Regions from separate parts of the Homo sapiens genome. Here all the other regions are linked to region 1. Evidence: promoter capture Hi-C in 16 types of primary human blood cells and fetal thymus (Javierre and others, 2016). All regions are on one chromosome and are shown on one strand. The core of a region is centred on a gene start or on the middle of the fragment in contact, and the rest is flanking DNA. Distances in the headings are between cores, read along the strand shown. Region 1 holds the start of TRMT6 (tRNA methyltransferase 6 non-catalytic subunit). Region 2 overlaps GPCPD1 (glycerophosphocholine phosphodiesterase 1). Region 3 has its middle 25 kb from the start of GPCPD1. Region 4 has its middle 58 kb from the start of GPCPD1. Region 5 has its middle 63 kb from the start of SHLD1.

Region 1 (2,561 bases), core at 18-2,517:
CAGGAGAATCGCTTGAACCTCGGAGGCAGAGGCTGCAATGAGCCGAGATTGCACTACTGCCCTAAAGCCTGGGTGACAAAGCAAGACTCCGTCTCAAAAACAAAAACACTGTGGTTGTATTTCTCAGATAAATTAATCCAAATATCCCAATAAATTTTCACCATTAATAAGCTCTTAGGACTTAACAACCTCACCAGCCCTTCCAGAAAGTTATCAAAATCCCACTTCTTTACTTCTATAAAACAGAGCGATACTAGCCAGCAGGTGCACAAACCAAACCTAATTTGGAGTTCTGAGGCCTTGAGCAAATTGCTTTTTAGCAATTTTCCCAGCGTTGAATCCTTTGGTGAGTAAAACGAGGGAAACTCAAAGTGATTCCACACTCTGTGGTGAATTGTCTCCTTCATCTATTCTGTGTATCCTGCTTGGGTAGAGAAGAGGATAGAAAGCCAGACTAGGTAGGAGACGTTTCATTTTTTGTGGGATAGATCCTGACTGGGGGATTAGGGAAGAAGGAGGATCTATGGTGGAAAAAAAGGGGGAACCTGAAGGAGACTCTGGAGACAAGGATGAGATCCTAAAGTGAAGAAAGGAGGGGGTGTCTCTGGAAAGACAGTGAAGATCCCAAGGTCCTAGGGAAAGAACTTCAGGACAGGTGATTAGGGTGTGGAGAGGGAGGCATTGGCACCCTAGGGCCAAGAATGGAATTCTGGGGAAGGAACTCTGTGGAAAGACTGAAAAGGATGCTGAAGGTGGACGGCCAGATATGAAATCATGGAGGGGGCTCCGGGAAAAACAGGAGGGTTAAGGGAGATTATGAGGTTCGAAGACGGGATCCTGGTGGAAAAGCCTTCTGTGACAGAAAGACCCGAGGAGACAACGAGGGCGGGGAATGGGGACCGAGAGAGCCAAGAATGGCACCCTGGCGGAAGAATTCTGTGGAGAAACCTGGAGGGAGGGGGTATCTACAAGGTGGGGGCGGGAGACCCCTAAAATCAGCGATCTGACTTACTTTCTCCGCTGGACTTGTACTGCTTTAAACACATCTTCACGTTTCAGCACCACGAAGTCGCCGTCGCGGATGCGGTGGTCTCCGGGATGCTGTGGTTGTGGGCCCGGCTGCTCCCCTGAGCCCTCCATGACGCTCAGCCGGTCGCCGTGCTCCACGGCGTCCCGCCCCTCCTCCTCGGTTGTCGCCACCGCCAGCCTCACTTCCCACAACCTGGCGCACTAGGAGCCCTCCGACCGGCACCGCCCCCACGTGTTGCACGCCGCTTCCGCTTTCCGGCCCAGACCTCAAGACCGCTTCCGGAAGCCTCTCGGCTTCCGTCTGGCCAAACTCCTTGATTGGCTGCACTCCGCCCCGCCCCTCTCGTCTTGCCGCTTCTTTGAGCGGAAGTTGGATCACTGAAGCGCCAAAAAAGAATTTAGGGGAAGACCTGATTTTCGCTTGAGGCATTTTTGCGGCGCTGTGCGCTACAGACACCTTCTGGAAGCTGCGGTGGGGAAACTGAGTTTCCCGAGCCGTTGAGACAGATGGGGTTCAGCACCGCGCGGGGACGACAGGAAAGCTGCGGCTGAAGAGAACTGCGGACTTGGCAGGAGTCGCCTGAGGAGCTAAGATCCCGGAGACTCTTAGCCCCGTGGTGCTTCTCTACGGGAGGGAGGGAGGGAGAATCCGGCCGGACAGATCTGCGCGTATCCTGGAGCCGGCCCAGTTGTGAACTAGGAGAGCTTTGGGACCTCTGTCCCAAGCAAGTAAGAACTTTAGCCTTAGGAGATGTAAATAAAGTAGTATTTGAAGAAGCACAGGTACCCAACTGTTTCTTTTTACTCTTTCTCCAGTCCTACTTCTTAACGTTTTTTTGAATTTGTTACTGTTCTCAGCATATTGTCTCGTTTGAGAAGGGTATGGCACGCAGCGTTGTTGAAGGAGCGCCTCAGCTTGGGAGGCTGAAAGTTTTATCTCTGTACTGTCGACAAACAACTTTGATCTTGATCGGTTTGCTTAATTTCTTTGAGCATCAGTTTCATAATGTGTAATGCCTAATTATTGGAGCCCTGTCATGCCGTTAAATCGTGAACTTTCTAGTTACTATCTTGTTTTATTAACTAAACCCCTTTTAAGTAAGGATTTGGGTAGAGTATTTGATAATGAATTGCACTGCAGCGTACAGGTATATCTTTATTTACTTGTATACTTAGGATATGAATCATTTTTAAGTAGACGTGTATTTTATAAGAACAGTTTTGGATTTACAGAAAAACTGCACAAAAAATGGATGTGACACTGCAGGATTGACTGTATGTAAGAAGCTATGATGATGTATCCCTAGTGTCTCACAGGCCAGAATTATGTTCATCCTGTCCTGCCCTATAATAAGAAGTCTCAAATACTGCAAATAAGTTTTCATAGAGTTAATTACCTGTCCTATTTTCATTTCTGTAATGGGGACTTGTAAACAGGTACAGTACCTGTCCTTATTTTTAACCTGTGAGCGTCTAGTATACGTAAACCATATTTAATAGTTATTAAACTATTATGGTATACCTTAAAAAGC
Region 2 (2,561 bases), core at 35-2,534, 370 kb before region 1:
ATCAGCCTAGTCTATGAACAAAACACTATTACAAAAAATGTTAAACAAAGTAAAGGGAAGGTAGGACATTCAAGATATAATTTATTAAAAGGTAGGTTTATTAAAAGGAAGCAACAAGAAAATGTTCAGGCCAGGAGCAGAGGCTCACACCTGCAATCTCAGCACTTTGAGGGGCCGAGGCAGGAGGATCGCTTGAGCCCAGGAGTTCAAGACCAGCCTGGGCAACAAAGACCCCATCTCAACAACAAAAAAAAAGTTGTTTTTTTTTTTGTTTTTTTTTTTTTTTCTGAGATGGAGTCTTGCTCTGTCACTCAGGCTGGAGTGCAGTGGTGTGATCTTGGCTCACTGCAACCTCCGCCTCCCAGGTTCAAGCAATTCTCCTGCCTCAGCCTCTCGAGTAGCTGGGATTACAGTCACGCGCCAACACGCCTGGCTAATTTTTGTATTCTTACTCTTGACCTCGTGATCCGCCTGCTTTGGCCTCCCAAAGTGCTGGGATTACAAGCATGAGCCACCGCGCCCGGCCAAAAACGTTTTTTTTAAATTAGCTGGGTGTGGTGGTACACACCTGTAGTCCCAGCTACTTGAGAGGCTGAGGCATGAGGATCACTTGCACCCAGGAGATTGAGGCTGCAGTGAGCCCTGATCATGTCACTATACTCCAGACTGCGCAACAGAGCAAGACCCTCTCTCCAGAAAAAAAAAAAAAAGGAAAAGAAGAAAGGAAAGAAAAAGAAAGAAAGAAGTCATCAAAATTTCATACTTTTATAATAGAGTCCCACAGATCTTACTGCTTACTGGATTAGATTTTTTTAAATCCATTCTGAATTCTGTTGTTCTCAAGAAACTGGCTGGGGGCTACTGGTGGTCAAGACATATTCCCTACCCTCCAAGATTTAAACTCTAATCTAGTATAAATGGGTGTGGAGGTGGAGCTAGAGGGTAAGGAAACCACTACATACCACTACCGAGCCAGGCCCACAGCAGTAAGGACCTTAGGGGATGTACCAAGTATTATGTGTTGGGGAAATATGAACAGCCAGTGGTCTACAAGCACTAGTGTAAGTATCACATGTAGCTCCAGAAAGTTAGCAGCACAGATTGTCAATAACCTGGCACAAGCTTTATAATTTCATTACATATTTACAATATCAAGTTGCAAGTCAGTCCCATCAACAAATCCTAATAAAGTACCTCAATAAATGACAGGCTTCCATCATAGTGAGAACTCAATCACGCTTGTTACATCGGGATGCCCGCCAAGAGGTACAAAGCCTGCCCTGGTCTCTATTTACCACTGATGTTTCCTTTGGATACAATTCATTTACATTTAGATTATTTAGCATACAGGCATCAAAGACATCTGGTCTTGATTGGAAACATCAATACTGCTGTTCTCTTAATTATATTCTTAATAGTACTTGAAGATGACAACTCTAAGTTTTTTAAGCTTAACTGTACAGAAGAGCATACCTCTAAAAAGTTAGCTTTACACAAATTAGATTAAAATGAAAATCAAAACCAACGTTAAAATAAGCTTGTCCCTGCATTCTTTCTCAATCCCCTCACTGCAGTAACTACTCACTTCGAAAAAATCAAAGATTAGTTCCAGGTTATCTGGTTCCATCGTCTGTATGCTGTACTCTGTCCAACGATCAGGCTGCAAGCCATAACCACACTCCGGCTGTGAATGCCTGCACTTGAACTCATTGTCGCTTATTAAGGATATCTCCAAGCTATTGGACATTTTGTGGAGTACAGTGGGAGATACCCTATCATCGTCATCTTCCTCCAGGCCTTCTAGTGTCAGCTTCACCCTACGTAATAAACAAAATAATGAGATGCAAGAAGTGGCAGAAAAGAAAAACTCATACAAATGTTGCCTAAATTCTACATTTTAAAGTGCCCCCAAATATGCTAAATCTTCGAATAACAAAAATAATGTATTATGCAAAGATTACACATACTACAGGTTAAGGAATTAGGTGTGTTTTATAAAATACTGATGTTATTATCTACACATATTTTTGCAAAGTATTAAAATGGGATAAATGACCATTATGCCTACTAAGGTTGTTGATTCTTTCATTAAAAAAAAATAAATAAATCTAGGGCTGGGCCAGTGGCTCACGCCTGTAATCCCAGAACTTTGGGAAGCTGACGCGGGAGGATTGCTTGAGCTCAGAAGTCTGAGACCAGCCTAGGCAACATGGTGAAACCCCATCTGCAAAAAATATAAAAATTATTCAGGCATGTGTCACATGCCTGTAGTCCCAGCTACTCGGGAGGCTGAGGTGGGAGGATCACTTGAGCGTGAGAGGTGGAGGTTGCAGTGAGCCGAGATTGCACCACTGTACTCCAACCTGGGTGACACGGCCAGACCCTCTCTCAAAAGAAAAAATATATATATTATTAAACACATATAATATTCAAAAATTTTTTCCTGTGTGGAAAATTTTTCATTTTCAAGACACAATAAAATTTAGAACACTGAAGAATACTTCCAAAAAATATTTTCTCTTTATGGCATTCTTATGTAGCAGACAATCATTTCCATTATA
Region 3 (2,561 bases), core at 43-2,542, 310 kb before region 1:
AACTTTGCTGAGTAGGAGATCTCTCCTGGATCCCACCTCTGCTTCTTTTCCCCCAGATATCTCCTGTCATATTTGTTTTTTACCAGGCTGAGTGTTCCTAAAGGCTTCCCTTGCATTGACTATGGAGCTCACAGCAATTTTTTTGTTGCTTGGAAATGGCTACTCCTCTGTAAGGGTGTGTTTCAGGAAAAACTCTCCCAAACTGTGCTTTTCCACTGTGCTCACACCACCACAACGATCGTCAACACAGAAGAACACTTCTGTGGCCAAATATGTGGGAGTTTTTCCCCATACACCAAGCAGCCGACACCAGGTGGGGGCCCTACAATTTCATTCTGACATTATCTACTTGGAGATAGCATCAGATCCCATGGGTTGAGGTCTCAGTCCCCAACACTGCCTCCCTTGCAGAAGACATCAGTTGCAAGTCTCTGCCACTGGAATTTCGGACCTACCAACAACAAGTTGAAGTCTCCACGACCCCCAATTTGGGTTCCTTTAATTTGCTAGAGAGGCTCACAGGACCCAGGGAAACAGCGATGTTTACCAGTTTATTATTATAAAGGATACAGATGAAGGGATGCACAGATATGAAGAAAGGGGTGCGGAGCTTCCATGCCCTCCCTGGGTGCACCACCCTCTAGAAATCTCCACACGTTCAGCCATCCCGAAGCTCTCCAAACCAATCCTCTGTGTTTCTATGAAAGCTTCATGGCCTCAGCATTCCTTCTGTCAGAGGCATTTGAACCAGAGCAACTCCATCTTGAATATGAGCTGGGTAAAAAAGGCTGACACCTACTGGGCTGCATTCCCAGATGGTTAGGCATTCTAAGTCACGGGATGAGATGGGAGATCAGCACAAGATACAGGTCATAAAGACCTTTCTGATAAAACAGTTTGTCGTAAAGAAGCCAGCTTAAACTCACCAAAACCAAGATGGCAATGAGAGTGACCTCTGGTCATCCTCACTGCTACACTCCCATCAGTGCCACGACAGTTTACAAATGCCATGGCAACATCAGGAAGTAACCCTATATGGCCTAAGAAGGGGAGGAATGAAGAACCACATTCATGCTTTTGTTTAGCATATATTCATATACATGTTTAGCATATATGCTTTTGTTTAGCATATATTCAAGAAATAACCATAAAAATGGGCAACCAGGGCTGGGCGCGGTGGATCGTGCCTGTGATCCCAGCACTTTGGGAGGCCGAGGCGGGTGGATCACGAGGTCAGCAGAGGTGGAGCTTGCAGTGAGCCAAGATTGCAGCACTGCACTCCAGCCTGGGCAACAGAGCCAGACTCTGTCTCTAAAAAAAAAAAAAAAAAAAAAAAAAAAAAAAAAAAAAGGGCAACTAGCCAGGCGTGGTGGCTCATGCCTGTAATTCCAGCACTTTGGGAGGCCAAGGCAAGTGGATCACCTGAGGTCAGGAGTTCGAGACCAGCCTGATCAATATGGAGAAACCCGTCTCTACTAAAAATACAGAATTAGCTGGGTGTGGTGGCACATGCCTGTAATCCCAGCTACTCGGGAGGCTGAGGCAGGAGAATTGCTTGAAACCGCGAGGCGGAGGTTGCGGTAAGCCGAGATCACGCCATTGCACTCTAGCCTGGGCAACAAGAGCAAAACTCCACCTCAGAAAAGGCAACCAGCAGACCAGCAGACCTTGGGGCTGCTCTGCCTATGGAGTAGCCATTCTTTCGTTCCTGCTTTCACTTTATTCTGTGGACTTGCTTCAAATTCTTTCTTGCCCGAGATCAACCCCCTCTTGGGGTCTGGATCCGGACCCTTTACCAGTAACACTCGAGTGTATAGGGCAGGACTGACCCTGGGGAGGGTCCTAAGGCCCACTGCACCCGGCCTCCATGGGTTTTAAAAGCTTCCAGCACTCTAGGCTGGGCACAGTGGCGAGCACCTGTAGTCTCAGCTATTCCGGAGGCGGAGGCACAAGAATGGCTGAACCCAGGAGGCGGAGGTTGCAGTGAGTCGAGATAGCAGCACTACATTCCAGCCTGGGCCACATAGCAAGACTCATCTCAAGAAAAAAACAAACAAAAAAAAAAACAAAAAAAAACCCTCCAGCATTCTAAGAAAAATGTTAACAATAAAGATAATGTGGGGCTTTACTTTGGGAGGCTGAGTTGAGAGGATTACTTGAAATCAGGAATTCAAGACCAGCTGGGCAACAAAATGAAACCCCATGTCAACAACAACAATCAAAAATCAAAAAATTAGCCAGGCCTGATGGCACATGCCTGTGGTCCCAGCTACATGGGAGGTTGAGGCAGGAGAATTGCTGGAGCCTGGGAGATCGAGACTGCACTGAGCCGTGATAGTGCCACTGTGCTCCAGCCTGGGTGACAGAGCAAGACTCTGTCTTAAACAAACAAATGAAGAAGATGTGGATGTTCCTGCAGGGGCCAAGGCCCTCGGCCCCCTGGAGATTTGAAAACCACTGACAGGCAGATTAATTGGAGAAAGGCATACAAATTTATTTGACATGTATACACGGGAGCCTTCAGAATGAAAACTCAAAGATACAGGAAAAAATGTCGATTT
Region 4 (2,561 bases), core at 31-2,530, 280 kb before region 1:
AAGTAGAAAAGAAACTTTGGGAGGCTGAGATGGGCAGATCGCTTGAGCCCAAGAGTTCAGGACCAGCCTGGGCACCATGGCAAAATCCTGACTCTAGGGGAGGTTCAAAGCATGAAAGGGACTTGCCTACCATTGTTGGCTTTGAATTAGAGGAAGGGGGCCATAAGCCAAGGGACAGCCTCTAGAAGCAGGGAACAGCCCTCACTCACAGCCAGCAAGGGGACCTCAGTTCTACAGCCGAAAGGGACTGAATTCTGCCAATAGCCTGAATGAGTAAAGAAACAGCTTCTCCTCATAGAGCCTCCAGAAAGGAGCGCTGGTATCTCACTGTGGTTTCAATTTGCATTTCCCTGGTGATTAGTGATGTTGAGCGTCTTTTCATGTGCTTGTTGGCCATTCGTATGTCTTCTTTGGAGAAATGTTTATTTGCCCATGTTTACTGGGGTTGTTTGTTTTGTTGTAGGAATCCTTCATATGGCTTGCATATCAACCCTTTATTATATATATAATTTCAAATATTTTCTCCCATTCTGTAGGCTACCTCTTCAGTCTTTTGATAGTGTCTTTTGAGGCACAGAAATTTCAAATTTTGGTGTAACCTAATTTATCTATTTTTACTTTTGTTGCCTGTACTTTTGGCATGATATCTAAGAAATTATTGTGAAATCCAATGTTATGAAGCTTTCTCCCTAAATTTTCTTCCAAGAGTTTTATAGTTGGGAGAGTTTTAAGCAGTGAAGTGCTATATGGGAGGCTGGACAGGGCAGGGATGTGGGAAGCTGATTGTGTTGAAAGTCCCAGTCTTCATCCCTCCCCTCATCTACATGCTTTGCTGTCACATTGCAGCTCCACCCAACAAGAGGCAACATGCACTTTCCTACCACTTGACTTTATTTCAGCCATGTACTTGGTAAAGACTTTCTACTCTGACTCTGGGCTTGACCATATGACTTGCTTTGGCCCATATAATGAGACAGAAGTGATGGCACAGCAGTTCCAAGCCAAGGCTTCAAGGAGCCTTGCAGGTTTCCACTTGCTATCTTGTGCTTCTGCCATCGTCCCGAGAACCTGCCCAGGCGAGCCCGCTGGAGGATGAGAAACACACAGAGCAGAGCTGAATAGCCTCAGTCAACTCAACCAGCTGATCCCCAGACATGGGCGTGAGCCATCAGCTGGTCCCCAGTTAACCCCAGAGGCATTAGTATTGCAGGCCACTGAGGTTTTGTGGCTGTTTCTTATGAAATGTACTCCATAATATCCAATAAGGATATTCAGTAAGGATGATATGGCATTGGATAACTGATACAGCGAGCAGATTGGAAGCAGAGAGATGTGTTGGGAGGATATTACAATAATTCAGGTGAGAGATGATAGCTGTGAAGGTGATGACAAGAGGTTGGATTCTGGATGTATCTTGAAGGTGGTGCTGATGGATTTGCTCTCACATTGGAAATAGGGTATGGGGAAGAGAGACCAGCTGAGGATCACTCCATGGGTTTTGAGCATCTGGAAGGATGAAATTGCCACTAGCTGTGGTAGGATGACTGCAGGAGGAGCAGGTTTGGGGAGGCTATCAGGGACTCAGTTTTGAATATTCACACATTCAGGGATTTTGGGAGAGTTGACACATATCCCTGGACTTTGGGAGTGCTCATAAAGCCAGAGGCTGGCAGTGCTTCTTGAATGAAAAACTGTGAAAAGGGGAGGCCTGATGAAGCAGCCTGTTGTGGATAAGCATGCCCCACAAGGAAAGGATGAGGGCTTTCCCTTTGCCTGAGGGCAGGAAGAGTGCATCAAGGGTCCCACGCCTCCTTATGAAGGAGCATAAAGTGGAGTGGTGGGTGGATACCTAGGGCTGCCCAGGTGGTGTCCAGCAAAGAGAAGCTTCCCCCGGAGAAAGGCTAGAGTACAGAGGCTGGTAGAGGCTGAGGGGAGACCTGACTGCCTTTGCCTGAGGGATGACCTCAGGAGTAGAAAGGGCTCACATGAAGTCATGTGGCATTCCGAAAGAATGGCACTCACCATCTCAGCGGAGCCCACCGCCTCTATGGGGGCCTCCAGCTGCAGAGCCCAGCCTGAGAGAATCCTCCTAGGAGGGCAGTCAAGGAGGAGGTCAGAGCCTCTTCTCCTCATGAATGCCAACGGTGGAGAACTAGGCTGGAAAGGGCACCTGGGCGAGGTGGGGAACAGGGAGAATCCTGGAACATAGATTTCCAGCTCTCGGAGAGGAAGAGTCTAACTTTTTTTTTTGAGACAGAGTCTCGCCCTGTCACCCAGGCTGGAGGGCAGGGGTTGCAGTTAGCCAAGATCACACCACTGCACTCTAGCCTGAGTGACAGAGTGAGACTCGGTCTCAATAAACAAAAAAACAAGAAGAAGTTGGTGTGAATTTGAGAGCTGTATTGTTAAGGCTCCAGTAGCATCTATTGTAGATATCACTGAGGGATGGGAAGGGGGATTCAAAGAGCATGGTAGAAAATGCAATTAGAGAAAATAGAATTTTCTTTTTTTCCACACGCACTAGATTGAATGAAAATAGTTTTCAAAACCCCTCTGCCTTG
Region 5 (2,561 bases), core at 24-2,523, 260 kb before region 1:
TTTCACCATGTTGTCCAGGCTGGTCTCGAAATTCCTGACCACAGGTGATCCGCCCACCTCGGCCTCCCAAAGTGCTGGGATTACAGGTGTTAGCCACCGTGCCCAGGCTAAATGATTAATTTTATCTAATTTTAATTAATTTAAATTTACATGTACATTGCCACATGTGGCTATAGCTATTGCATGAGACAGTGCAGACTTAAGACTTTGGCCTGGCACCGTGGCTCACACCTGTAATTCCAGCACTTCGGGAGGCAAAGACAGGAGGATCACTTGCGCCTGGGAGTTCAAGACCAGCCTAGGCAACCTAGTGAGATCCTGTCTCCATAAGAAATTGAATTAGTTGAGCACGGTGATGCACATCTGTAGTCCCGGCTACTCTGAAGGCCAAGGTGAGAGGATCACTTGAGCCCAGGAGGTCAAGGCTGCAGTGAGCCGTGATCGCACCACTGCACCCCGGCCTGGGTGGCAGAATGAGAACCTGTCTCTCAACAAAACGAAACAAACATTGCTTAACACATAGGGAGCATTCAACAAGGGTTAGCTAAGTGTCAAATTGCTACAGCCAGAGTGGCAGAAGAAGACTCAACCCAGAAGTCGAAGAAAATGAGAAAACGTCTAGATTTGAAGGAATGACCTCCCACAGAGCATTGCCCCCCTTCACTTTACCTTCAGGTAACGGCTTCGAAGAGAAGATCTGCAACCATCTAAAGGAAACGTTGGGGATGTTTTGTTCCTCTTAGTCACCTTTGCTTGGGTAGGAAGTCACTCCTCACATAGAAAGACTTGGCCATGGGCAGCAGCGCAGGTGGGAGGCATATGGGTGCGCACTCACCTCACCTTCCAGTTCAGCACAGGCTCCCTTTACACCCTAGCTGCCCCGTGTCCTCATGCTGAGCCCACGGCAGATCTTTGTCCTGTCCAGGACTTCATCCTCCTTGCCTCTAGATCTCCAGTGTCAAGTTAGCATCTGCATCAGTTTCCCAGGGCTGCCATAACAAAGTGTCACAATCTGAGTGGCTTCTCTGACAGTTCTGGAGACCAGAAGTCAAGGTGTAGGCAGGACCGTGTGCTCTGAATGTTCTAGGGGGAGAATCTATTCCATGCCTTTTTCTTAGCTTCTGGGCATTCCTGGGTTCTTGCGTGTATTGCTCCAATCTCTATTCCTGTCATCACAACAGGGCACTCTCTTTGAGTGTCTGTGTTTCCTTTTGTGTCTGTGTCTTGTGTTACTTCTCTCTCTCTCTCTTTTTTTTTTTTTTTTTTTTTTGAGACAGGGTCTTACTCTGTCACCCAGGCTGGAGTAGTACAGTGGCGTGAACTTGGCTCACTGCAACCTCTGCCTCCTGGGCTCAAGCGATCCTCCCACCTCAGCCTCCTGAGTAGCTGGGACTACGGGTGCATGCCACCACACCTGGCTAATTTTTGTATTCTTGGTAGAGATGGGGTTTCACCATGTTGCCCAGGCTGGTCTTGAACTCCTGAGCTCAAGTGATCCACCCACCTTGGCCTCCCAAAGTGCTGGAATTACAGGCATGAGCCACTGCACCTGGCCTCTTCCCCTCTTACAAAGACACCAGTCATATTGGATTAGGGCCCATTTAATCCAGTATGACCTCATCTTAACCTGATTGCATCTGCAGGGACCCTATTTCCAAATAAGATCACATTCACAGGTCCCAGGGGTTGGGACCTTAACATATCTGCTTGAGGGACGCAGTTTAGCCCACAACAGTTACCATTCCGTCGTGGGCTTATTTTCTGCTGGGTGGCAGCTACTTTATCTGTCACAGTTTTGAGGAGGACACTTGTCATTCTGTGTGCCTGGTATCCTTCTCCTGAGAATAACTGAGCTGCTGCTAACATGAAGATGGTTTAGGGCAAAAATTTTAAAAAGGCACTCCCTTTGGGTAGACAAATTGCAAAATTCGTGCCCACTCCATGTGATGAATTACAGACAGTTTGCACCTTCCCCTTCCTGCTCATGCAAGGAAGTGTTGCGCCCTTCCTCTTTCCCTTTGTGTCTGCTTGGAATTGGGTCTGATTGGAATTGGGTTTCGTCACTTGCAACCAAAGAATCCTGACTGACATAGATGGTACTTGGCGCCATGAATTAATGTGTTGCCTCTCATAACTAATTTCCTGGAGGTAATCCATTCACTTGAATGAAGATTGGAGCACTGTGACCAGCAGTGCAACTTTATGGCTTTGGCTGTTAGGGATCTCCATGCCCCCTAGGTCCAGTTTAGGCTGCTCCCTGTTAGACCTGTAGCAGGTGCTCTTCTTGCCCACCATGTCCCCTCACTCTGACCTCTCCATCGGGCGGGGCCCTACTCATGGCCCCTTGGAAGTAGGGGCCCTTATTTCCTCACAAGAGGAAGCCAGCTGCTCAAGGGCTTCCTCTTGCTGCCAGAGCCCACTTTACCCCCAACGTGGCAGGCCAGAGTGTCCAGGACTTGGCCCCACACCGGAAGCAGCCCTTGCTGCCTGACTGATGGGGGGTGGTATGTTCAACACTCCAGCCGCCTTTCCCGGCAGAGGCAGCGTGCAGAGGTGTGTTC

The links. The method cuts DNA at HindIII sites, captures the fragments that hold promoters and counts their contacts. A CHiCAGO score of 5 or more calls a contact.
Region 2: a contact is called between a fragment that was not itself captured here and the fragment with the promoter of TRMT6 in region 1, in 16 of 17 cell types (naive B cells, naive CD4 T cells, naive CD8 T cells and 13 more). The highest score is 20.1, in naive B cells.
Region 3: a fragment that was not itself captured here is called in contact with the fragment with the promoter of TRMT6 in region 1 in 1 of 17 cell types (naive CD4 T cells); the score reaches 5.6 in naive CD4 T cells.
Region 4: a contact is called between a fragment that was not itself captured here and the fragment with the promoter of TRMT6 in region 1, in 5 of 17 cell types (naive B cells, total B cells, fetal thymus and 2 more). The highest score is 7.3, in naive B cells.
Region 5: a contact is called between a fragment that was not itself captured here and the fragment with the promoter of TRMT6 in region 1, in 3 of 17 cell types (naive CD4 T cells, monocytes and fetal thymus). The highest score is 5.4, in naive CD4 T cells.

The regions. Positions count from the first base shown.
Region 1 is chr20:5,949,266-5,951,826 of GRCh38, forward strand. TRMT6 (tRNA methyltransferase 6 non-catalytic subunit) reads right to left here and starts at 1,268. Exons shown (of 11, transcript NM_015939.5): 1 at 1,013-1,268. The coding sequence starts at 1,140. It overlaps MCM8 (minichromosome maintenance 8 homologous recombination repair factor), which reads left to right and starts at 1,387. Exons shown (of 19, transcript NM_032485.6): 1 at 1,387-1,758. RefSeq lists an enhancer at 1,264-1,403. The HindIII fragment of the contact is 3,685 bases long and covers 1-2,561 here.
Region 2 is chr20:5,576,795-5,579,355 of GRCh38, forward strand. GPCPD1 (glycerophosphocholine phosphodiesterase 1) reads right to left here. Exons shown (of 20, transcript NM_019593.5): 8 at 1,586-1,817. Among named protein-coding and RNA genes, the nearest start is that of GPCPD1, 33 kb to the right of the region's middle. The HindIII fragment of the contact is 328 bases long and covers 1,121-1,448 here.
Region 3 is chr20:5,634,353-5,636,913 of GRCh38, forward strand. No RefSeq gene overlaps it. Among named protein-coding and RNA genes, the nearest start is that of GPCPD1, 25 kb to the left of the region's middle. The HindIII fragment of the contact is 1,174 bases long and covers 706-1,879 here.
Region 4 is chr20:5,667,582-5,670,142 of GRCh38, forward strand. No RefSeq gene overlaps it. Among named protein-coding and RNA genes, the nearest start is that of GPCPD1, 58 kb to the left of the region's middle. The HindIII fragment of the contact is 1,203 bases long and covers 680-1,882 here.
Region 5 is chr20:5,686,085-5,688,645 of GRCh38, forward strand. No RefSeq gene overlaps it. Among named protein-coding and RNA genes, the nearest start is that of SHLD1, 63 kb to the right of the region's middle. RefSeq lists an enhancer at 2,020-2,520. The HindIII fragment of the contact is 3,496 bases long and covers 1-2,561 here.